Regions from separate parts of the Homo sapiens genome. Here regions 2, 3, 4, 5, 6 and 7 are each linked to region 1. Evidence: promoter capture Hi-C in 16 types of primary human blood cells and fetal thymus (Javierre and others, 2016). All regions are on one chromosome and are shown on one strand. The core of a region is centred on a gene start or on the middle of the fragment in contact, and the rest is flanking DNA. Distances in the headings are between cores, read along the strand shown. Region 1 holds the start of COX6A2 (cytochrome c oxidase subunit 6A2). Region 2 overlaps FBXL19 (F-box and leucine rich repeat protein 19). Region 3 holds the start of SETD1A (SET domain containing 1A, histone lysine methyltransferase). Region 4 overlaps ZNF267 (zinc finger protein 267). Region 5 holds the start of HSD3B7 (hydroxy-delta-5-steroid dehydrogenase, 3 beta- and steroid delta-isomerase 7). Region 6 has its middle 12 kb from the start of ZNF267. Region 7 overlaps STX1B (syntaxin 1B).

Evidence for each region. Contacts are between HindIII fragments. The CHiCAGO score rates a contact against its expected background, and 5 or more counts as called.
Region 2: a contact is called between a fragment that was not itself captured here and the fragment with the promoter of COX6A2 in region 1, in 5 of 17 cell types (monocytes, naive CD4 T cells, total CD4 T cells and 2 more). The highest score is 6.8, in monocytes.
Region 3: a contact is called between the fragment with the promoter of SETD1A here and the fragment with the promoter of COX6A2 in region 1, in 4 of 17 cell types (monocytes, total CD4 T cells, total CD8 T cells and 1 more). The highest score is 5.7, in monocytes.
Region 4: a fragment that was not itself captured here is called in contact with the fragment with the promoter of COX6A2 in region 1 in 1 of 17 cell types (erythroblasts); the score reaches 6.0 in erythroblasts.
Region 5: the fragment with the promoter of HSD3B7 here is called in contact with the fragment with the promoter of COX6A2 in region 1 in 11 of 17 cell types (naive CD8 T cells, activated CD4 T cells, total CD8 T cells and 8 more); the score reaches 11.0 in naive CD8 T cells.
Region 6: a contact is called between a fragment that was not itself captured here and the fragment with the promoter of COX6A2 in region 1, in 4 of 17 cell types (total CD4 T cells, M1 macrophages, activated CD4 T cells and 1 more). The highest score is 7.0, in total CD4 T cells.
Region 7: a contact is called between a fragment that was not itself captured here and the fragment with the promoter of COX6A2 in region 1, in 15 of 17 cell types (monocytes, naive CD8 T cells, total CD4 T cells and 12 more). The highest score is 13.3, in monocytes.

What each region holds. Positions count from the first base shown.
Region 1 is chr16:31,426,948-31,429,927 of GRCh38, forward strand. It overlaps COX6A2 (cytochrome c oxidase subunit 6A2), which reads right to left and starts at 1,413. Exons shown (of 3, transcript NM_005205.4): 1 at 1,306-1,413; 2 at 1,068-1,204; 3 at 784-910. The coding sequence starts at 1,378. The coding sequence ends at 827. The HindIII fragment of the contact is 1,386 bases long and covers 788-2,173 here.
Region 2 is chr16:30,937,492-30,940,471 of GRCh38, forward strand. The region is part of intron 7 of FBXL19 (F-box and leucine rich repeat protein 19); the gene reads left to right. Among named protein-coding and RNA genes, the nearest start is that of ORAI3, 10 kb to the right of the region's middle. The HindIII fragment of the contact is 1,563 bases long and covers 828-2,390 here.
Region 3 is chr16:30,956,253-30,959,232 of GRCh38, forward strand. It overlaps SETD1A (SET domain containing 1A, histone lysine methyltransferase), which reads left to right and starts at 1,502. Exons shown (of 19, transcript NM_014712.3): 1 at 1,502-1,712; 2 at 2,465-2,629; 3 at 2,839-2,934. The coding sequence starts at 2,480. RefSeq lists enhancers at 810-1,573, 1,031-1,160 and silencers at 1,761-1,980, 2,121-2,210. The HindIII fragment of the contact is 14,721 bases long and covers 1-2,980 here.
Region 4 is chr16:31,882,128-31,885,107 of GRCh38, forward strand. ZNF267 (zinc finger protein 267) reads left to right here. Exons shown (of 4, transcript NM_003414.6): 2 at 2,371-2,497. Among named protein-coding and RNA genes, the nearest start is that of ZNF267, 9.8 kb to the left of the region's middle. The HindIII fragment of the contact is 4,868 bases long and covers 1-2,980 here.
Region 5 is chr16:30,983,477-30,986,456 of GRCh38, forward strand. It overlaps HSD3B7 (hydroxy-delta-5-steroid dehydrogenase, 3 beta- and steroid delta-isomerase 7), which reads left to right and starts at 1,731. Exons shown (of 7, transcript NM_025193.4): 1 at 1,731-1,821; 2 at 2,177-2,348; 3 at 2,573-2,728; 4 at 2,947-2,980. The coding sequence starts at 2,183. It overlaps SETD1A (SET domain containing 1A, histone lysine methyltransferase), which reads left to right. Exons shown (of 19, transcript NM_014712.3): 18 at 159-296; 19 at 374-1,188. The coding sequence ends at 547. RefSeq lists an enhancer at 1,200-1,712. The HindIII fragment of the contact is 29,451 bases long and covers 1-2,980 here.
Region 6 is chr16:31,860,709-31,863,688 of GRCh38, forward strand. It overlaps the pseudogene RBM22P13. Among named protein-coding and RNA genes, the nearest start is that of ZNF267, 12 kb to the right of the region's middle. The HindIII fragment of the contact is 9,415 bases long and covers 1-2,980 here.
Region 7 is chr16:31,002,200-31,005,179 of GRCh38, forward strand. All of the region lies in intron 1 of STX1B (syntaxin 1B), which reads right to left. Among named protein-coding and RNA genes, the nearest start is that of STX1B, 6.9 kb to the right of the region's middle. The HindIII fragment of the contact is 2,126 bases long and covers 520-2,645 here.

The DNA of each region.
Region 1 (2,980 bases), core at 163-2,662:
TACTAAAAATACAAAAAATTAGCCGGGCGCGGTGGCGGGCGCCTGTAGTCCCAGCTACTCAGGAGGCTGAGGCAGGAGAATGGCGTGAACCCGGGAAGCGGAGCTTGCAGTGAGCCGAGATTGCACCACTGCAGTCCGCAGTCCGGCCTGGGCGACAGAGCGAGACTCCGTCTCAAAAAAAAAAAAAAAAAAAGAAAGAAAGATTATAGAGAATTATCAAAAGATTCCAAATCCAGCATTAGGTCCCAAGGCCTCACACACAGGACTGTGGAGCCTCCGTCTGAAATCCAGAGAGCTGGGATTCACAGACACCAGCAGCTCAGGTGTCAGGCAAGAAGTGGGACTTCAGGATCTGCAGCCCTGGGCTCCCATGGGGGCTCTGCCGAGCTGCCGGAACTTGGACAAGTCATTTAATTCCCAAGAATCTCAGGTCTTCCTCGGGAGAAGGTGAACTAAATTTATACCCTGCTCCCAGCGTTACTGTGAGGATTCGGTGTACGCGGAAGCCCATTACAGCCTAGAGCCCTAATTATTAATAGGTGTGTGTGAGAGGGAGGCCTCATTATTACCAGGTGAGAGACAGGGAGCTGGGATCGCCTACCTGTGAGTGGAGGAGGCTCCCTCGAGCACCTCCGTATCAGCGGCGTGGGAAAAGCACGTGGAGCGCCCACCGCGCTAGGCGCATGCGCGGAGCAGGAGCGCTTACCAAGCTGGGCGCATGCGCGGAGCGGGCGCCTCTGGGCGCGCTCCCCGTGGCCCCGCCCTCCCCACAGAGCCGCAGACTCGAAGCTTCACACCTTTATTGTGTCCGGGGGCGTCCGGGGCCTCAGGGGTGTTCGTAGCCCGTGGGCAGAGGGTTCACGTGGCTATTGTGGAACAGAGTGTGGTTGCCGTCCCCCCAGGGGTAGGGCTGTGGAGAGAGCGGGGGAGGGAGCGCGCGTGAGCGCCGTGAGTCCGGAGTCCGCGCCCCGCGCGACCCCCCCCCCGCAGCACCCCCCCCCGCCCCCGCAGCACCCCCCCCCGCCCCCGCAGCACCCCCGTGCCGCCCGCGCGCCCGTCCCGCGTACCTTGGTGCGGATGCGGAGGTGTTGGTAGGGACGGAACTCGGGGCGCGGGCGGTGGCCCGAGTGGAGATAGGAGTTGAAGGTGCAGAGGGCCACGCTGGGCAGCGCCAGCACGAAGGTCAGCAGACGCCAGGTACGAGCTGCGGACGGAGCGGGGTGAGCGCGGCGGTCCTGGGGCGGCGGGCCTGTGAACAGGTGGGCAGGGTAGGGGAGCCCCCGGATCCGCCCGTTCCCCACTCACCTCCTGCTCCTCCGTGGCCTCCTTTGGCAGCGCTGGCCAAGCCCCGGGTCAGGGGCCTCAGAGGCAAAGCCATGATGGTGCGGGGAGCCGGGAACCAGCGCTGTCCTCGCTCCCTTTCCTGGGGCCTGGGGTCACCTCCCCTCTCTGGGCCAATCACCTGTTGAGTCTGGAGCACTGGCGGCTATTCTTAGGGGTTTCTATATTTAAAATGGGGCCTGACTGGCTTGAGGTCATCTCCAGACAGCTGTTGTCCTGTGCCTCTTATTTTGGCAAGGAGGCATTTAAGTACAATATGCCATTCTTTTTATATAGTTGCAGGGAAACTATTTTGTTCCCTATTCTATGCCTGGTGGCTGGCACACAGTTGGGCTTTAATAAATATTTGTAGAATGAATTAAGTGTCTTTTTGAGTCTCAGTGTTTTCAGCTGTAAAATGTATAATAATTCGTACCTTAAAAGATTTTTTAAATACTGGAGACGGGGATCTCACTATATTGTCCAGGCTGGTGTGGAACTCTTGAGCTCACGTGATCCTCCCGCCTCAGCCTCCCACAGTGCTGGGATTACAGGCATGAGCCACTACACGGCCCTTACATCATTTTTATGAAGTTTATGTAAGGTAGGAATGTGTCAACCTGGATTTTGGCAGGTAACAGTAGTTCAGTATATGTATTAGTCACAGTTCTTTGCAAAGAACAGAACTCACTCTTACTAGTTTTAGAAGATAAGTAATTGAGAATCTTAGGTAGCTTACTATGTCTGATATAGCCAGAGATGCCTACAGTCTGCACAGTCATAAACAAGTCATTCCGTTGGCCAGCTGCAGTGACACCCCCACAGCTCACACTGCTGGACCCTGGATGCCAAAAGCTTCATTAAGGCTGCCCTGGAAAACCAGAATTTTCCACCCTCATCCCCTCTTGAAAACAGATTCTTCATGAAACCTGTATCCTGGGTCGCTCTTTTCTGAAAGAATTATGTGATTGCACCAACTGGCAACCCCTAGGTCCCCCAGCTGCAGGAGGGGATGGGAAACTGAGCTCTGGATTCTGCCTTAGGGAGGCAGGAATTGTAGGGAAAATCTCCAGGTCTAGGATGAGTATTCAAAAGGTTCCAGGCAGCCACAAGCCTGACAGGTGTCTACTGCAAAGTGCATTATTTCAATCTGAAAAATATGACTACTTGGAGAAAGCAAGCCTAGACAGGGCTGGTGTGAACCCTCTATCAAAGCAGGTCACAAGAAAGCCACAAGACCAGGCAGGGATGACATCTGCCTGTTCTGTCCTCAGCAACGGGCAGGGACCTTGGCATGAAGGAGGTGTTCTAAAAATATGTATGTAATGAATGCTTGAACCTTGTTACTTTGGTTAACCCTACAACAATGCCTTTTCAGAATTACAATCCAATAGGAAGCTTCTAGCTTTGATCAAGGGCTGATGTACTAATATGAACTTAATATACAAAAGAAGAATGAATTATATAGACATATAATCTGAATTTAATATATAAAAAAAACGAGGAAGATATATTTTCAAGAAGGGGCTCTATACCTGTTTCTCATTGGTAATAAACTGAACAGTATGTTCCATCCAACTTTAAGCTGCTGCTATTTTTAAAAAAAATAACCTCCTTGAGCAGTCAAATGTTATACAGTGTTACAAAAATTATTCCTGAG
Region 2 (2,980 bases), core at 359-2,858, 490 kb before region 1:
CTCCGTGCCCAGTGGAAGCCAGATACTTGGGATCAGTAGGGCCCTCAGTGACTGTTGGTTGTCCCTCTGAGGTTTAACCCCAGTGTCCTGGTTGTACAAGAGCAGGGGGACTGATGAGCTGTAGCCAAGGAAGGTGTGGGAGACTTCCTGGAAGAGGAGGCACTGGAGCCGAGCCACGAAGGCTCTGGGTTGGCATTTCTGGCAGAGGCACAGCATGTGCCACAACGTGTTGGCATCAGACAGCACTGTGTCTATAGGTGGGCAGGTGTGTGGCCTGGCTGTTGTGGAGTATGATACAGAAACACAACTGGGGTCCTGTGGGTGCCCCCAGGGAAAGGGGCTTCCTTCCAGCTGTGGACCGTGGAAGGGAAGTGGCTTCAAGGAAGTGGTGACAGTTAAGCTGGGAGGCAGTCGTGGCAGGGTCACAGTGGGCAGAGAGAGGTTTTGGATAGAGCAGATGTCACCGATTTTCTTGCTCACAGAAAGAGCAAAGGGGCAGGACCTAGGGGTAGAAGCTGGGTCGGGCATGAGTTGGTTTTTTTCCTTTTCATGTTTTGAATTGGAGAGATTTGCAGATGTTTATTAGTTGAGAGGAAGGAATCAGGAGAGGGAGAGGCTAGAATGCCAGAAAAGCAGGATGAGGGTAGGAGGGAACAGGAGAGCGAGTGGCAGAGGGGTGAAGGTGTTCGGACTGAAGCCTTGGTGTCTGTGCCCTCAGCCTTCTCTAAAACGTCACACCAGGGCTGGGCCCAGTGGCTCACGCCTGTAATCCCAGCACTTTGGGAGGCTGAGGCAGGAGAATTGCTTGAGCCCAGGGGTTCAAGACAAGCTTGGGCAACATAGTGAGACCCCCATCTCTATTAAAAAAGAAAAAATTAGCTAAGCATACCTGTGGTCCCAGCCACATGGGAGGCTGAGGCAAGGGGATCACTTGAGCCCAGGAGTTTGAGGCTGCAGTGAGCTATGATTGCATCACTGAGCTCTAGCCTGGGCGACAGTGAGACTTTGTCTGAAAAAAATAATGAAATGACACACTGGGCCTCTGGAGTAGGTCTGGCATTTTTCAGTGACACAAAAATATGGCTTAATCCCTCTGTGAGTTTTGGAAAGGAAGTCTTTCCATTGGAAGGAAGTCTCTCCATCGGGTGCTTTTTTTCTTTTTTGAGATGGAGTCTTGCTCTGTCGCCCAGGCTGGAGTGCAGTGGTGCAGTCTCGGCTCACTGCCAGCTCCGCCTCCTGGGTTCACGCCATTCTCCTGCCTCAGCCTCCTGAGTAGCTGGGACTACAGGCGCCTGCCACCACGCCCGGCTAATCTTTTGTATTTTTAGCAGATACGAGGTTTCACCGTATTAGCCAGGATGGTCTCCATCTCCTGATCTCGTGATCCGCCTGCCTCGGCCTCCCAAAGTGCTGGGATTACAGGCGTGAGCCACTGCGCCTGGCCACTATTGGGTGCTTTTTCTAACACTTCTCTGATACTTATCTCCCTGTTTAACAAAAGTAGTCTTCAGGTAGTAGCCTAAAGCCACAGCAACACCTGGCTAGGATTTAATAACTCTGGTCTTTTTTGTGTTTTATTTATTTATTTATTTATTTTTGAGACAGAGTCTCGCTCTGTCACCCAGGCTGGAGTGCAGTGGCGCAATCTCGGCTTACTGCAAGCTCCGCCTCCCAGGTTCATGCCATTCTCCTGCCTTAGCCTCCCAAGTAGCTGGGACTACAGGTGCCCGCCACCACGCCCGGCTAATTTTTTGTATTTTTAGTAGAGATGGGGTTTCACCGTGTTAGCCAGGATGGTCTCAATCTCCTGACCTCGTGATCTGTCCACCTTGGCCTCCCAAAGTGCTGGGATTACACCACACTTGGACTTTTGTGTTTATTTTTAAGATTAACATATTTATGTGAAACAATACTGGGGTTTTTTTTTTTGTTTTTTTTTTGAGACGGAGTCTCGCTCTGTCGCCCAGGCTGGAGTGCAGTGGCACGATCTCGGCTCACTGCAAGCTCCACCTCCCAGATTCACGCCATTCTCCTGCCTCAGCCTCCCGAGTATCTGGGACTACAGGCGCCCTCCACCACGCCCAGCTAATTTTTTGTATTTTTTTTTTAGTAGAGACGGGGTTTCACTGTGTTAGCCTGGATGGTCTTGATCTCCTGACCTAGTGATCCACCCACCTCGGCCTCCCAAAGTGCTGGGATTACACGCATGAGCCACCGCGCCCGGCAACAATACTGGTTTTAAGTGCAAAGAGGAGATGATTCAAAGATAAATCATGTTACGCAGATAAGTGAACAGCAAATACTGGAGCTTGGGAATCACTGCCCCAGCCCAGGGCTTCTACAAGGAAAAGCCTTTCAGAGTCATGAGGGCAGGGAGGGAGGCAAGAGAAAGCTTCCCTTGGGAGGCCAAGGGAAGGATCGCTTGAGCTCAGGAGTTCAAAACCAGCCTGGACAACCTTGTCTCTACTAAAAATAAAAAAATAGGCCAGGCACAGTGGCTCACGCCTGTAATCCCAGCACTATGGGAGGCCAAAGTGGGCAGATCACCTGAGGTCAGGATTTCGAGACCAGCCTGGCCAACATGGAGAAACCCTATCTCTACTAAAAATACAAAAAATTAGCCGGGCGTGGTGGCGCATGCCTGTAATCCCAGCTACTCTGGAGGCTGAGGCGGGAGAATCGCTTGAACTTGGGAGATGGTGGTTTCAGTGAGCCAAGATCACACCATTGCACTCCAGCCTGGGCAACAAGAGCGAAACTCTGTCTCAAAAAAAAAAAAAAAGTCAGGTGTGGTGGCATGTGCCTGTAGTCCCAGCTACTCAGGAGGCTGAGGTAGGAGGATGGCTTGAGCCCAGGAGTTTAAGGTTGCAGTGAGCTGTGATCGCAGTACTGCACCCCAGCCTGGGTGACTAAGCAAGACACTGTCTCAAGAAAAAAAAAAAAAAGCTTCCTGGGCCTGCTGCTTCTGACACAGTCTATT
Region 3 (2,980 bases), core at 252-2,751, 470 kb before region 1:
TAGTCCATGAAACTGAACTTGGACTATCTACCCCTCACACGGGAATCTCTCTTTGATTTGAGAAAAGGAACCAGTGCCTTTCAACTGGAACAGAAAGGAATCTGATCTCAACACCTATGCCTCCACGTAAATTATTTTTTTCAGCCTTATTTCCCTCAAAATTGTAGAGTCCTAATCTTCTTCTATCTTGTGGTGTGAGACCTTGGATAAGTCTCCCTTCCACCTTTTCCTATTACTTAAAATGGTGAATTTGCATAAACCAGGCTCTAAGGGTCTTTTCTGCACTGTTCGGATGTGTACAAATTGACATCCAAGTTTAAAGGAAGACTCTGAAACTTAGGTCAATGACTTGCCCAAGGCCATATAGCGAGGGCCTGATGTACACATATCAGGAGCTTGGGGCATCCTCAGCTCAGGAAAAGGGACCTCCTGGGAGTGCCTGCGCCCACACGGGATCAAAACGGTGCCCAGCCTTCAGAAACCTCAGCCCGAGTTCCAGGGGTAGGCCTGGGCCGCTGCTGCCCTTGTGCGGAGGCATCCCGTGAGCATAGGGCGCCATAGCCAAAGAAGCGGGCAGTGGGACCATGACGCCAGGAGGACACACCAGTCCAGTCCCGTTCCTGTAGGACCTCGTTTATTATTACAAGGCCCATTTAAGGGCACTTAGGCCCCACTAGGCTCATCAGAAAACCTTGAGGCGGTCCCTGGATTTAACCACTAATGGTGGGTTTGAGTACGGCAAAGTAGGGCACCTTCTACAGGCCTCACTCTCCCCATCTGGCAAATGGGCATCCTAAGCAGCCAGACACCCAAGGGCAATAACGGGAAGGAAAGGTACCCTGCATTTATGTGCGAGGCGGGGCAAACCGCCTGAGTCACCGCTCACGGTTGTGTTTTTCCACCTCCCGGCCGTCCCTCCCATCCGGGTGAGTCCTCGTGGGTCCTCCCGGAGGCGCCCCCTAGTCCCAGGCTCTGCACGCCCTGGCCCCGCCCCTTGACTCGGCCCCGCCCACAGCGGAATCCGCAGATTCGCCAGGTCGGATCCTCAGAATTCCTCGGGTCCCTCGATACTCGGCTGAAAATTCTCATCGGACTCTGAGAGGAGCGCTGGGCTGGAGGCATTTTCCCCAGGGACAGAAGCGGGCTATTCTCTCACTTGGGCCAGTAAGAAAAATCCAAAAAAAGTTGTCGACTCTGCCAGCAGGGATTGGCTAACGGGCCGTTATTTTCTTGACTCCACCAAGGCGGATGAAGGGGAGGCTACGGCTGAGGCCGGGAACAGTGGCGAATCTGCAGCCTCTCAGAATTTGGCAGTGCAAGGAAGGGACGGGGAAGAGAAGCAAAGCGGCGCGCATCCTGTCCAGCGATTCGCCCCGCCCGCCCGGTGAATCTGCGTCTGCAGAACGCGCCACTGAAGGTTCCCCAGCGCTGGCTGGCCTCCTCCCCTCCGCCCCGCCCCTTTTCCTCAGGGACTAGTCGCAGCTTTCGTCGCCGCCGATTCGTCAAGGTCCCGGGCCGCAGCATCTAGATCGTCGTGGCGAAGCCGACTCTCCGGGGGATGCGGCCAATCTCCAAGCTCCCTGGGCCGCAACTTCCGAGCCTCCCAGGGCGCCGGCCGAGGCGAAGCCGCTACCCTCGGCCCCGTGGGTCCCCCGGCAGCGCCTGTGGCGAAAGTGCGAATGCAGACCCTGTGCCCGCTGGGCCTCGCGCAGGTGGCAGTGGTGTTTGGTGCGCGCGCCGGGGAGGTGGTGGTGGGGGGGCGCCGCCGCCGCCACCGCTGCGGGGCCGGGTCTCGCGCTGCCGCTGCCGCCGCCTCGCGCCGCTGAGGTGCCGCGCGAGGTGGGGGGAGGGGGAGCCGCTCGCCGGGAGCGGGTGAGTGGGGCCGCGCGGCGCGCGTGCGCGGAGACCTGCTGGGGGGGGTGCAGAACGCGCCGGGGCGGGAGGAGAGGGCAGCGGTGCACGTTCCCCCCACCCCCCCGCCCGGATTCGGGGTCGAAGCCGGGTCTCGGGCTCGGTCTCGCGGTGTTTCCAACGCCCCGAAGAGGTGCCACCTTTCGGCCGGAGGATCGGGGCGCGGGGAGGAGAGCGGGTGTGTGGGAGCCGTGGCCGGGCTCGGCCCGGGCCGCTGGCCGGTGAGGAGGCGGGAGGGGGCGGGGCCTGCAGGGGGCGGGGGAGGGGTCTTGCTCCGAGGCCAAGTGGGGCGCGCGCTAGGGAGAGCGGGAAGGTAAGGGGGCTCGAGACGGGCCTGGGGGCCTGACAGTAGAGTTGGGAGGTGGAAAGAGGCTGGGTTGTTGTGGCGAAACAGAGGGTACTTGGGGGAGAATCCGGGGGAGCCCCGGGTCAGGGTGAGGGTTGGAAACTGGAGTGATGGGAGAACCTGGAATCGGGGCTAGCCAATGAGGAAAGGCAGGGGAGTCAGGCCCCAAGTCCTGATCCTTCTTGCGTGTCCCTCTTCCCCTAACAGTGTAAATGAGCAAAGATGGATCAGGAAGGTGGGGGAGATGGGCAGAAGGCCCCGAGCTTCCAGTGGCGGAACTACAAGCTCATCGTGGATCCTGCCTTGGACCCTGCCCTGCGCAGGCCTTCTCAGAAGGTGTACCGCTATGATGGAGTCCACTTCAGTGTCAACGTGAGTGCCCGGGTCTTTGGTTGCCATCCGGGGAGCTCCAGGCGCCCGTCCTCTGTGATTCTGTTCAGCACCTAGAACGGTAGCCTGCCTTCTTGAAAGTGGGCAGTTGGACCCAGCTCTTCTGCATGTGTGTGTCCAGATGGGCTGCTTGGAGCTCCCTAGCCTGGATTCACCCTGAGCTCTCTTTCTGCTGCTGCTTTCCTTCCTAGGACTCAAAGTATATACCAGTCGAAGACCTCCAAGACCCCCGTTGCCATGTCAGGTCCAAAAACAGAGACTTTTCCCTCCCAGTCCCTAAGTTTAAGGTAAGTGTCTGCTGGGCTCCTGGTGTGGTAGTCCTAAGAGGGTGTG
Region 4 (2,980 bases), core at 249-2,748, 460 kb after region 1:
GGGTTTATATGGCTTAACTCACACCATGTGATGTTCCCAGCACAGTACATACTGTGAGCACATAGTACAAGCTCAATAAACACTGCTTTAATGCATGTATCCGTGCTGTTTTCCAAATGCTGACTTAGACATAACTGTCTTCTCCAGTCTCTGTATCTGTAGACTTTAAATGGCTGGCAAAGGGTGTGATCTTTCAGGACAGTGGTTGGTGGTCCTCACTGTGAACGAAAAGTATTTTTGTTGTGATTAGAGTATTGGGCGTAAGGGACTCTGTGCTGTGTCTGCTTCCTCTAGCTGAGTGCTATTGATAATGGGTCTAGGAGGAGCAACATCAGCATTGACAGGGGACTTGTTAAAGAAGCCAGTTCATGGAAACTTTCCAAACCTGCAGAATCACATTACTTAGAGGGGGCCCAGAATACCAAATGATATGTATGCGTATTGAACCTTGAGAGGCAATGCTTAGCTAAGTGATTCTCAGCCCAGGCTTCTAAGTAGGGTCACATAACCAGTTTGAAGATCTATGGTCACCTGTATCTTCCCCCACAGATTGTTTTTTTATGATTATATTAAGATTATGATTTACTGTTCCCCTCCGCCCATATCACAGCAATGATTATGGGCCCATCTGTGCATTAGCACTGGTACCAATTTGTCTTATTACAGACGATGCTAACTTCATTCACTTGGTGCAGGTGCTCTCTGTCAGATTCCTTCGCTATAAAGTTAATCATTTTTCTCTTTGTAATGAGTATCTAGGAGGGAGGATTTACTGAGTGATGTCTATAAACCATCACATTTAATCCAGAGACTCCCATTTCTTTTTGGTTTCCCTTTGCTTGTAGCTTTCTTTGCAGAGTAAAGGCTCTCACATTTGTTGACAGGAGATAACAGCTTTTAAGACTGGAAGTTCTGAAGCAGGTCTCAGTTCTGTAGGTTTCCATTTTATTTCATCTCATGTCACAAGCATATGCTTATTTATTCTCTATATTTTCAGAGAAAGAACAAGAATTAACATATAACAAATATGTCTATTGTCTTAAAATTCTAAAATATATAATAGCACATAGAATAAACATAACAAAAACTTGAAAAAAAATACCAGACTCAGAAACAAGAGCCTTTACTTTATTTCATTGTATGTATTGGTCTTTATAAAGGCATCACAAAAAAGGCATCACCCACAAAGAGTTTTATAGTTTTTATACAATTTAAAATATTTTTAAATTTTATTTACACAGAAATATTATCTTACTTTTAGTGTGTATATAGTTACCATTATGTGCACATATGCACATAAAATGAAAGCATTATTCGATCACTATTGTGTGGCTGCTTTCTTGTTTTCGTTACTCAGTTACGAAATCTTCTCTGAACATTCTGTTAAGGTTGTCTCTGTATATTGGCCGGTATGTCCCTTTGAGATAAATTCTAAATCAGATAAACTGAGGCAAAATACAAACTACTATGTAGCAAATATTTGGAAAATAATTTTTATATAAGAGGAAGAATATAATTTTTCTCAGATTATTTATTGGGTTTTATATATGTAAACAACTTTTAGGATGATATCTGATATATTGTGCATGTTCAAAAAGGATTACTACCATTCTAGCTGTTATAACTTGTAAATTTCATAAAACTCTCAGTTTCACATCATGCCTGAATTCTTTCCTCAGTGTTCGACCTCTCTGCTATTCAAAAGTGGCTTTGGGGCCTGAAGCATTAACACTACTGGTGAACTTGTTAGACATGCAGATACTCAGCCAGCCATGGTGGCTCATGCCTGTAGCCTTAGCTACTCAGGAGGCTGAAACAGGAGGATCGCCTGAGCCCAGGAGGTTGAGGCTGCAGTGAGCCAAGATTCAACCACTGCACTCCAGCCTGGGTGGCAGAGCGAGACCCTGTGTCAAAATTAAAAATTAAAAAATATGGAAATGCAGAAACTCAAAATCTAGATCTCCTGAATCAGACTCTGCCTTTGAAGAAGATCTCCAGTTTATTGTTGTATACTATACAATTTGAGAAGTATGCCTCTAAGTCACCATGACTTTTGCACCTGAGAATTATACACAGCTGATTCTGGATGATGTAAATATAGCACCCAAAAATGTATATTCCTGTGTTGATGCCTTAGTTTTATATTTTACATTTGATATAAATATCTACACTAGTTTTGTGGATTTTATGTTATTTTCTTTCCACAGAGTTTGAGACTACATTAGAAAATATTACTGTGTTAAAAATGATCTTACTGAATAATTCAGGTCACTCATATATGTCAGAACCAATAACTGTCATTTCATCTTGGGACAAATGAAGAACTCTGCCATGGCCACATGGTCAGTGTATTCTTTATTTTTATTTCAGGGACTGTTGACATTCAGGGATGTGGCCGTAGAATTCTCTTTGGAGGAGTGGGAACACCTGGAACCAGCTCAGAAGAATTTGTATCAGGATGTGATGTTAGAAAACTACAGAAACCTGGTCTCTCTGGGTGAGGATAACTTGCCTTCGGAATATCTAATAACTAAGAGTTTTATTTTCTTTTCAGAATGTCCCTTGGGATCTTGTGCTTTGTATGAGTTAGTTTTAGATTCTTGTTTTCAGGAAAAAAATAGGGGTTTTGTTGAAGTAGAAAAAATTTCATAATGTTTGATTTTGACATTCGCCTTTTTATTTGAGGTGATGTACAAGTTTCACTCTAGTCGTGATTCTAGAAATTGGTTGACATAAACTATTGTTGCTTACACTTTAAAATCCAATTTTTTTTGTTTGTTTTTGATTCAGTCAGATTTGCAGAAGCTCAGGATCCCCAGATTTAAAATGCTTCCTAAATATTCTAAAGAAGCTGGTAGGAAACAATATTTTGAGAAATACTTTTCAAGAATCTTCTATAATGTCTTATTTTTTCTACTGAGCACAGTACTAAGTTAGAAATTAATCCTGTCCTGTGGGGCCAAAAAAAAGTATAAAAATA
Region 5 (2,980 bases), core at 481-2,980, 440 kb before region 1:
AAGCAGAGTCGAGAGAGTCAGTGCCGGGTTAGCGGGAGCTGGAGGCAGAGCTGCAGCTCCAGGCCTGGTGGGCGTGGACCTGGGGTGCTGGCTGGCAGGCGTGCTCAGGGGCAGGAAGTGGGGGACTCTTCCCTGACCATCGCATCTCACCCTGGCAGATGGTGGCCGACATGCGGGAGAAGCGCTACGTGCAGGAGGGCATTGGCAGCAGCTACCTGTTCCGGGTGGACCACGACACCATCATCGATGCCACCAAGTGTGGCAACCTGGCCAGATTCATCAACCACTGCTGCACGGTGCGCCAGGGGCCAGCCGGGGCAGGAGTTGGGGGTCGGTGGGGGTGGCCACGGCTCACACGCCCTTCCATCCGCAGCCTAACTGCTACGCCAAGGTCATCACCATCGAGTCCCAGAAGAAGATCGTGATCTACTCCAAGCAGCCCATTGGCGTGGACGAGGAGATCACCTACGACTACAAGTTCCCACTGGAAGACAACAAGATCCCGTGTCTGTGTGGCACAGAGAGCTGCCGGGGCTCCCTAAACTGAGGTGGGGCAGGATGGGTGCCCACACCCCTATTTATTCCCCCTGGTGCCCTGAGCTCCCAGCACCCCCCCAGCCTTAGTGGGCTCAGCAGGGCCCACATGCCCCCATCTCCAAGCGTGGGGTTGGGGGCCCCAAGCCCAGCGAGGGAGCCTCAGTCCCTGGAGGCAGCTTCTGCCTCTCCTGTCACCCCTGCCCACCACCCCCTGATTGTTTTTCTTTGCGGAGAAGAAGCTGTAAATGTTTTGTAGCAGCCAGCAGCTGTTTCCTGTGGAAACCTGGGGTGCCGGCCTGTACAGATTCTGTCCTGGGGGGCTACACAGTCCTCTTGCTTTGTGTTAATGGGGACTTCCCCTTACGCCCTGCGTGTACCCCTCCCCAGTTTAGGGGTCTCTGGGGCAGTGGCCATGTTCTCCCCCTGGGGGGGCTCTGCACCCCCAGTCCTGGGGACTCCGTGCCTGGAACCCTGCCTCATCTGTTCCTGCCAGACCCTGAGGGTCACCCTTCCACCCTGGTGTCACTCCCCGGCTCAGCCAGGCCAGGATGGCGGGGTGGGTCCCTTTTGCTGGGCTGGACTGTACATATGTTAATAGCGCAAACCCGACGCCACATTTTTATAATTGTGATTAAACTTTATTGTACAAAAGTGTTTGGTCGGTGTATTTGGGCAGGAGCGAGGGGTTGGGGGTAGAGGGCACGGAGGGTTGTGCAAGTTGAAGAGAGGGAAAAGTGGGTACCTGAAGTGTGGGGCAGGTAAAGGGGCCTTCAGGCAAGAGCCCAGACCTGCAGAGACAGTCCGAGACTGTCTCGGACCCCCTGACAGGCTGCAGCAGCCGCACCCGCACCAGGAATACCCCACCAGTGCCCGCCAGGGTGGTGCCAAGGTCAGGCCTCCCCTTCCTACAATCACAGCTGCAGCTGGACCTCCGGCCTCCTGGGAAGCCCAGCAGGAGGGAAGGCCTGAGGTCACACTGTGGGATGAGGTCACCGCTGGCTCCACCCACAGCCCCAGACCCCTTCAGCCCACTCTGCAAGTTCGAGCTTCATCCCCACCAAGTTCTCCGCTGGACCCAGATGCCAGTGGAGCACAGAGCGGCCGCCAGGGGGCGCCTTGGGGCAAGAGTGGTGGGGGTTGTGGCTGGGCGGGTCTCTGTTCCTGGAATGGGGCAGGAGGGAGAAGGAGGAGCCAGCGGAAGGACGGTGTGCGGGCCGGCCAGCCCTGGACGAAAGAAGAGGGCCCCTCCAGGCCAGTCTGGGCACCCTGGGATAGCGGCTGCAGGTAGGCAGAGGCGCTGCCAGTGCCCAGGTGGCCTTTCCCTCCATCCGGCCCTTCCCACCTTCCTATAACCTTCCCTCCACCTCCCTCAACTCCTGGCCTCCCCACCCTTTTACTGCCTTCAAATCTCTCTCCCTAAACCCTGACCCCTTCCTGCACCCCAAGCCCGCCCCTCTCTCCGTAACTCAGCCATCAGCAGGGGCAGACGGCAGGTGGCCTGGTTGCTGCAGCTCCCAGGATCAGCTCTGCCCTCCCCGCAAACGCCAGCCTCGTCACCGCTCCAGGGCACCTCCAGCAGTAACAGGTGGTTGCAGCAGGTGGCAGCCAGCCCCTGGATGAGCCAAGGTCTCTTCCCCAGCCAGGCATGGCCGACTCTGCACAGGCCCAGAAGCTGGTGTACCTGGTCACAGGGGGCTGTGGCTTCCTGGGAGAGCACGTGGTGCGAATGCTGCTGCAGCGGGAGCCCCGGCTCGGGGAGCTGCGGGTCTTTGACCAACACCTGGGTCCCTGGCTGGAGGAGCTGAAGACAGGTTCTTGTTGGGGGAGCTTGTGGTGGAGAGGGTGTGGACGCTTCCCCAACCCTTCCCAAGCTGGGATCCCCACCCCTGCAGTGGAACAGATGATGCTGGTTTCTGTCCACATGGATGGGTCGAGTGAGTCACATTGGGAACGTGACTCCAGGGTGGAAGATGAACCCAGCCTCTGGCCTCTGGCCCCAGCTCTGACATGGCCTGTGTCCTCCAACCCCGGCCAGGGCCTGTGAGGGTGACTGCCATCCAGGGGGACGTGACCCAGGCCCATGAGGTGGCAGCAGCTGTGGCCGGAGCCCATGTGGTCATCCACACGGCTGGGCTGGTAGACGTGTTTGGCAGGGCCAGTCCCAAGACCATCCATGAGGTCAACGTGCAGGGTGAGGAGCTCTGGACACTCCTGGCCATCTTGCCTGTTTGTTCCCCACTCTGTCTTTGGCCTTGACCTCCGGTGACTCCCCTGGGACAAGTTGTCCTATTGACAGCCCTGCCCCCGCCTCCCCTGACCTGTCATGGTTTTCCCTGGACCTGGGATGGGGAGGAGGAAGATGCAGAGAGGGAAGAAGCTGCAGCTTGGATACGCCTCCTCCTCTGCCAGGTACCCGGAACGTGATCGAGGCTTGTGTGCAGAC
Region 6 (2,980 bases), core at 298-2,797, 430 kb after region 1:
TGCAATATATACTTAAAATATGACATTGTGGCTCATCAGGCTGTGTTCTGAGCACAGGACTCCAGCGAGGTGCCTAAAGTCCCATAAATATATTCCAGGAGTCCAGAGAGCAGTGGCTGTTTTATTTATAGTATTTTTGAGTATAGCATTTTTAGTGTGTGATCAAGATATTACGTTATATACAGAAATTATCATAGTTGAAAATCTTACCATTTTTCCTTAAAGCATCAAATACAATTTATAAAACACAAAAGGGAAAGAAAGCCTATGGTGCTGTCTGCATTTCATCCTGGCATAGGTGAAACTCTAGCCTCTCATTTGGCTTTTGGTGGCATACGTGGGCAGGCAGCCATGGTTTTTCAGTGGTTTTGGCTGTAGTAGGGCAGTCACTGGATAAAAGTTTTCTGGTTTTATTTTTTTGCCTTTGCCTATTGGTGTATCTGAGTTGCCAGTTTCTTTAGCTCCAAGACTACAGTATATGGGCAAAGAAACCCGTGTTTCACCCCACTCTGTTATCACATCTTTCTTCGGTTCACGAACAGTATGCTTGCTTTCTTCCACCTTTTAGAGCTTTCTCCATTTGGTTTCATGTATAATGTCCAGGGATTTTAGTTGTACTTATTGGGAAGAATAGAGACATGTATGTCTAGTCTGTCTTCCCCAGAACTGAAATGCTTGGTTGTGAATGGATTAAACTGAGCTATCTCTAATTTGCCCATTATCCAAGCAGAAATATCAAGTTACTGATATTAGTTCCCATCTGAGGCTCTACTCCAGGTGGTGGCATCCCTTCCTGGGCACTGGGGCCTTGGCTGAGGCAGCAGGGAGAGATGCTGCCACTCAGGTCTTCAGCTCCCCTCTAGCATAGTGATGTCACTACCTGTGGTGGGGAATATGATTAACAACAAAGTCTCTTGCCAACTCAGGAAATCTCTCCGGAAAGATAGAAGAGAAAGAAAACAGTTTCATTGAAGAATCATTAAACGGCATTGTGATGCACAAAACAGATAATAACCTAGCACATTGCAAGAAAGAAGGAAATCTCACCCTTGTGCATAGCCAGGCAGCTACAACCAGTGCATGCGTGTTCCCGAGATAAACAGTAACCAGTCCTCAGGGAAGGGACTTGACAGCACTGTTTTTACATGTCCCTCAAGGGTACCCACTGTGTTCACTAATCACATTTATGACAAGAAAAGACCAGTGTCTCATAGTTTATGGCAGGAGTAGGTTAGTAAGTTAGAGCCAGGCACTGGCGGAAGCTGGGCTCCTACCCTCTCATGGGAACTTGCTCCCTTAATGATTCCATTTTAGAGAGATGGCTCCCAGGCCCTTGAGAAAGACAGTCCTGGTTGGAAGTTGGTAAGCGGCTTACTTAACTTTTGGAGACTTCCATACGTCACAAGGGGACAGAGAAGAAACTCATAGGGACAAGTTTTCTTTTAAAAATGCTCTGAAAGAAAAAGGCAGGGTTCCTTTTTCCTCTTTCACTGGGACAAATTTGTTTAATTGGTGATTACCCTTGTATCTGCCAATGGTTCAGTGACCCCCCATCTTCTACTCTCCAGTCTTACCTCAGTTCAGCCACTCCCTCCTGCTCTCTGGTACTCAGCCCTGTGCCTTCCAGCCACCTTTCTCCTTATATCATCAATCCTGTTTCCTAAACTCAGGGATTTCCATGCTCTGTCGGGATCCTGCCTCACTGCACTGCCTCCTGGACGCTCTCTGCAGGCTCTGAGTTGGGGCAGCCAGGGGGTCCCCTCCCTTGGATTCAGCCTCCAGGCCACTGTCCTGTGCCCCTATCAGATACTTTCTAGCATCTGGACACATTTAGGTCACATAGTGGATCTGGCTTTCTACTTGTTTGATGCTGGAGGGAGTCTGGATCTTGTTCTTTCACATACATAGAAGGCAAAGCTCAAAACTGATTTTGAAATTCTTTGTTATTAATTTTGGACTGAGATAAATTCTCTATTACTTTATAGTGACACATATATCGTAGCTCAAAGTTTAGTAGTTAGAATTTTAGATTATTATTTTCAGTACTGTGATTTCCCGTATTTAATCAACTTATAGGAAAGGCATGATAAAGAGATTATCTCATGTTTGAATACCCTTTTCTTTAATTTTTGGATTAGCTCTCTTCCCCCACCAACTCGCAATCTTTCTGCTCTAACCACAGGCACTTTTGGCAGCCATGAATTCTTATTCTGGGCAACAGGAGTGGCTCCACAGATGATGAGTCTATGGCCTGTTATACATGGAGCTCTTGCAAGCAAGTCCTGGTGACCACAAGGTGACCCAAGGCCCCTTCTCAGGCCAGATCGCTATGCCTGAAACAAAGGAAGAACCCTTCAGGGGAAGGAATATTTAGCCTGAAAATTCTTTTGTTCACTCACTTTTCAGGTGTCTTTATCCATTATTGAGCATCATAAATATCCAGATGCACAGATGCTTCCTGATATGTCCATGAGTTTAAAGATTGGACATTACTTCGCCCAGCAATCCTCGTTTTCAAACTTGCCAAGTAAGGTTTTATCATCTCCCACCAACAGAAACAAGGTCATGCTTAGGCCTTGGTGGCATAGAGGGAGGGTCTCTGAAAGTCACTCAAATATACACTCTGAGTAGTTTCAAGGTGTATTCACTTTTCTCTGTCCCTTGTAGGCCAGTCCTTGGAGAGACTAGGAAATCCAGAGTTTCCTACAAGAATGGGGATTCCTTGGAAGAGAGTTTCACCTTGAATCAAGAAAGAGGAATCACATACTTTCAAAGGAAATTTCTCATGATCTCAAGATCTCAAGAACCAGGGGCAGAAGGAAAAGCTGGGCTGACACAATGGTGGTGGTCCTGTCTCCATTCAAAAAGCTACCACTGCCTCTAGACCCTCTCAGGATGGCAACATTTCCTGATTCCAATCCTAAAATAGGCAAAGTTGGGAGGATGCAAACTTCTCCATTCTGTGTCAGACATGTCTTAG
Region 7 (2,980 bases), core at 333-2,832, 420 kb before region 1:
CCAGCCGGCTCTCCCTCGCAGTGGATTCACTTGCTTTCATCCAGCCCCTTCCAACTTCACACCCACCTACTCTTGCTGGCTTGGATTTCCCAGTTGCAACCTGCAGCTGCTCAACCCTCCACCCGCAGGGCTCAGAGACACAAAGAGATTTACCCACCCACAGCACCACTGCCACCGACAGACAGACTCGAGACACAGACAGAAGAGCTGACACCCAAGGCACACAGGAATAGGCCCCCCCGACACCCACACGGAGATGCACTGATGCTGGCGTTCACCCGCACGCAGACTCACAGCTGAGCCGCACTGACATGTGTGGACACACTGGCTTTCAGCTGCACCCCTGAGGACATTTGGGAGGGCTCACTGGGCTTGTTCTTCCAGCTTCTCCGAGCCTCATGTCTGCACACACACTCAGAGCTGGACAGGAGAGGCTGTAGGGGAGGTGCCCTGTGCTACACACACCTGAGTCCTTCTCTGCTTGGGACAGAGGTCTGACAGCAAAATCTGAGTCCATCAAGCTTAATGACATCTGGAGCCCTGATCAGCCCCAGTGGAAATGTATACAGAGTTCATTCTGATTTCCAAAAAGAACCCAGCCAGAGCTCAGACAGAATCCAAACCCCAGAGGCTGGGTGAAATCAAGACAGGATCCAAACAGCATCCACCTGGGGGTGTACTCAGTTGGAATCCAAAAAGAAGAGCTTGCCAGGGTCCCAGCGGAACGCAGACAGGGCCTAACAGAAACCAGACAGGCTCAGACTGAACTAGCCGAGGCTCACACGGATCCCAGACAGATCCCAGACAGCTCAGATTGAACCTAGACAGGGCCAGATGGGACCTAGGTGCAGTCCACACAGCCAAAACTCAGGATCAGCAGTGCCCCACAGCCCCAGGAAAAGCCAGCACAGCCTGGGGGGCCTCCAGCTCCACGCTCCTGAGCCACCCCAGCCTCCCTGCTAAGCCCAGCCCAAATGGAACTCCAGGGAGTCTTCACACAGACGCTGGGCCCACACTGTGTCGGAAAATGTGTTCAGCACTTGTGTTGAATTTCCAGACAATCCCAACCATCCGCCTGGAAAGGGAGTTTCCTCTGTCTTGGCTCACAGCTGCCCCCAGAAAGTGGGGCGGCACAGGTGGCATAAGTTGGGGACCCTGAGAGGCTCTGGGATGCTGGGCTCACCTCTGAGGACCCATCGGCCTACCATGATGCTCTTCACTTTCTCTGTCCTCAAAATCCAGCTGTGCTACAAGGCCTCCTTCCCCTAGAGCCAAAAGCCTTCCTCTGCCCTTTCTCTCCCTTCAACCACTCACTCAGCCACCAGCCTCACGCAGGTCATGCGGCCTCTCCCTGGCCCGGGTGCCTGAGGACTTTCCTGTTCTCTGTGTCTCTCCCTTCCCCATGCTAATGTTAGGAAGTCTTTCCTAAAATCTAATTTCAATCTCTCCTGTTGTTCTTGGAGCCACCTCCCTTAGGTTCATCTCTGGAGCACCCTGGGCTACCTATTTGTTTGCCCTCAAGACAGGAAGAATGATAGAAGGCCCAAGTGTGGTTTATTTGGTATAATAAATACAAAGAGAGCTGGGAGCTAATAATCCTCTACCATTTACAAACACTTTTACATCCATAATCCGTTTTGATCCTCAGCACCACCAGCCCTGAGAGAAAAGCTGCATAAACATCATCGTCCCCATTTCACAGATGAGGGAACAGGAAGCCAGGGGGGTAAAAGGAGAGTGACTTGCCCAAGGGCACCCAGGCCACATAGGGCCAGAAAACCATGGGCATCCAGCCCCTCAAAGACCGCTGTTAGGCTCCAGACTGGGCTACCTCCCCCACTGACTTTCCGCTCCCAGTTACTTTCCCTCTCAGTGAGCGCCTGCTAAGTCCCAATCTGGGGAAGGCTCTGTGTCCGGACAACCTAGCAAAACAAGAGCACTTGATGGTATTTTTTGCGTAAGTCTTACATTCTTGTTATCTCATTTAATCTTCATTAGGACTCTGTAAGGACCATTGGCCAACATAATTATACTTATGCAAATATTTAGATGATGTTTTACAATGTGCCAGGCACTGTTCTATGTGCTCCACATATATCTATCCATTTCATTCTTACAACAGTCCCCTTGGAGGTATTATTATAGCCCCCTTTTATAGATGGGGAAACTGAGGCATAGAGCTAAATAACTCAGGCCAGTTGTAGTGGCTCACGCCTGTAATCCCAGCACTTTGGGAGGCTCTGGTGGGAGGATCACTTGAACCCAGGAGTTCAAGACCAGCCTGGGCAACATAGCAAGATCATGTCTCTACAAAAAATACAAAAATTAGCTGGGCATGGTGGTGCGCACCTGTAGTCTCAGCTACTTGGGAGGGTGAGGTAGGAGGATCCCCGGAGCTCAGGAGGTCAAGAGACTGCAGTGAGCTGTGATTGTGCCACTGCACTCCAGCCTGGGTGACAGAGCAAGACCCCGTTTCTTAAAAAAAAAAAAAAAAGAACTTGCCCCAGGTCAGCTGTTAGAAGACCATTTGGCTCTACCCCTGAGCCTAGTCTCTGCATTTGCTGAGTGGTAACAATGCCTACCACCGGCTGATTCCATGTTACAGACAAGGAAACAGGCTCAGAGAGGTTGCCTGACCTGCCTAAAGCTTCACAGCAAATGAGGCCAGAGGTAGGACCTGAACCCAGGACTGTCTGGCACTAAATGTCAGGCTCTCTCCCTTCTGTCCTGCTGACAGATGGCAGTCCCTCCTGGTCCTAAAAAGCCCACTCTGCCATGTCCTCAGGACTGCTGAACTCCTGCAGCCAGGACAGAAAATCAGTAGGAGGGGCCCAGGGCTGCAGGAAGAGCTTGGACAGGAGGCCATCCCTCCCAGCCTCCGTCTGTCTTGCTGTGTGACCCCAGGCAAACTTAGACTCCTCCCTGGGCCCCAGTTCCCTCATCACTGAAATGAGCAGACTGGTGCAAGTGCCCACCCTGC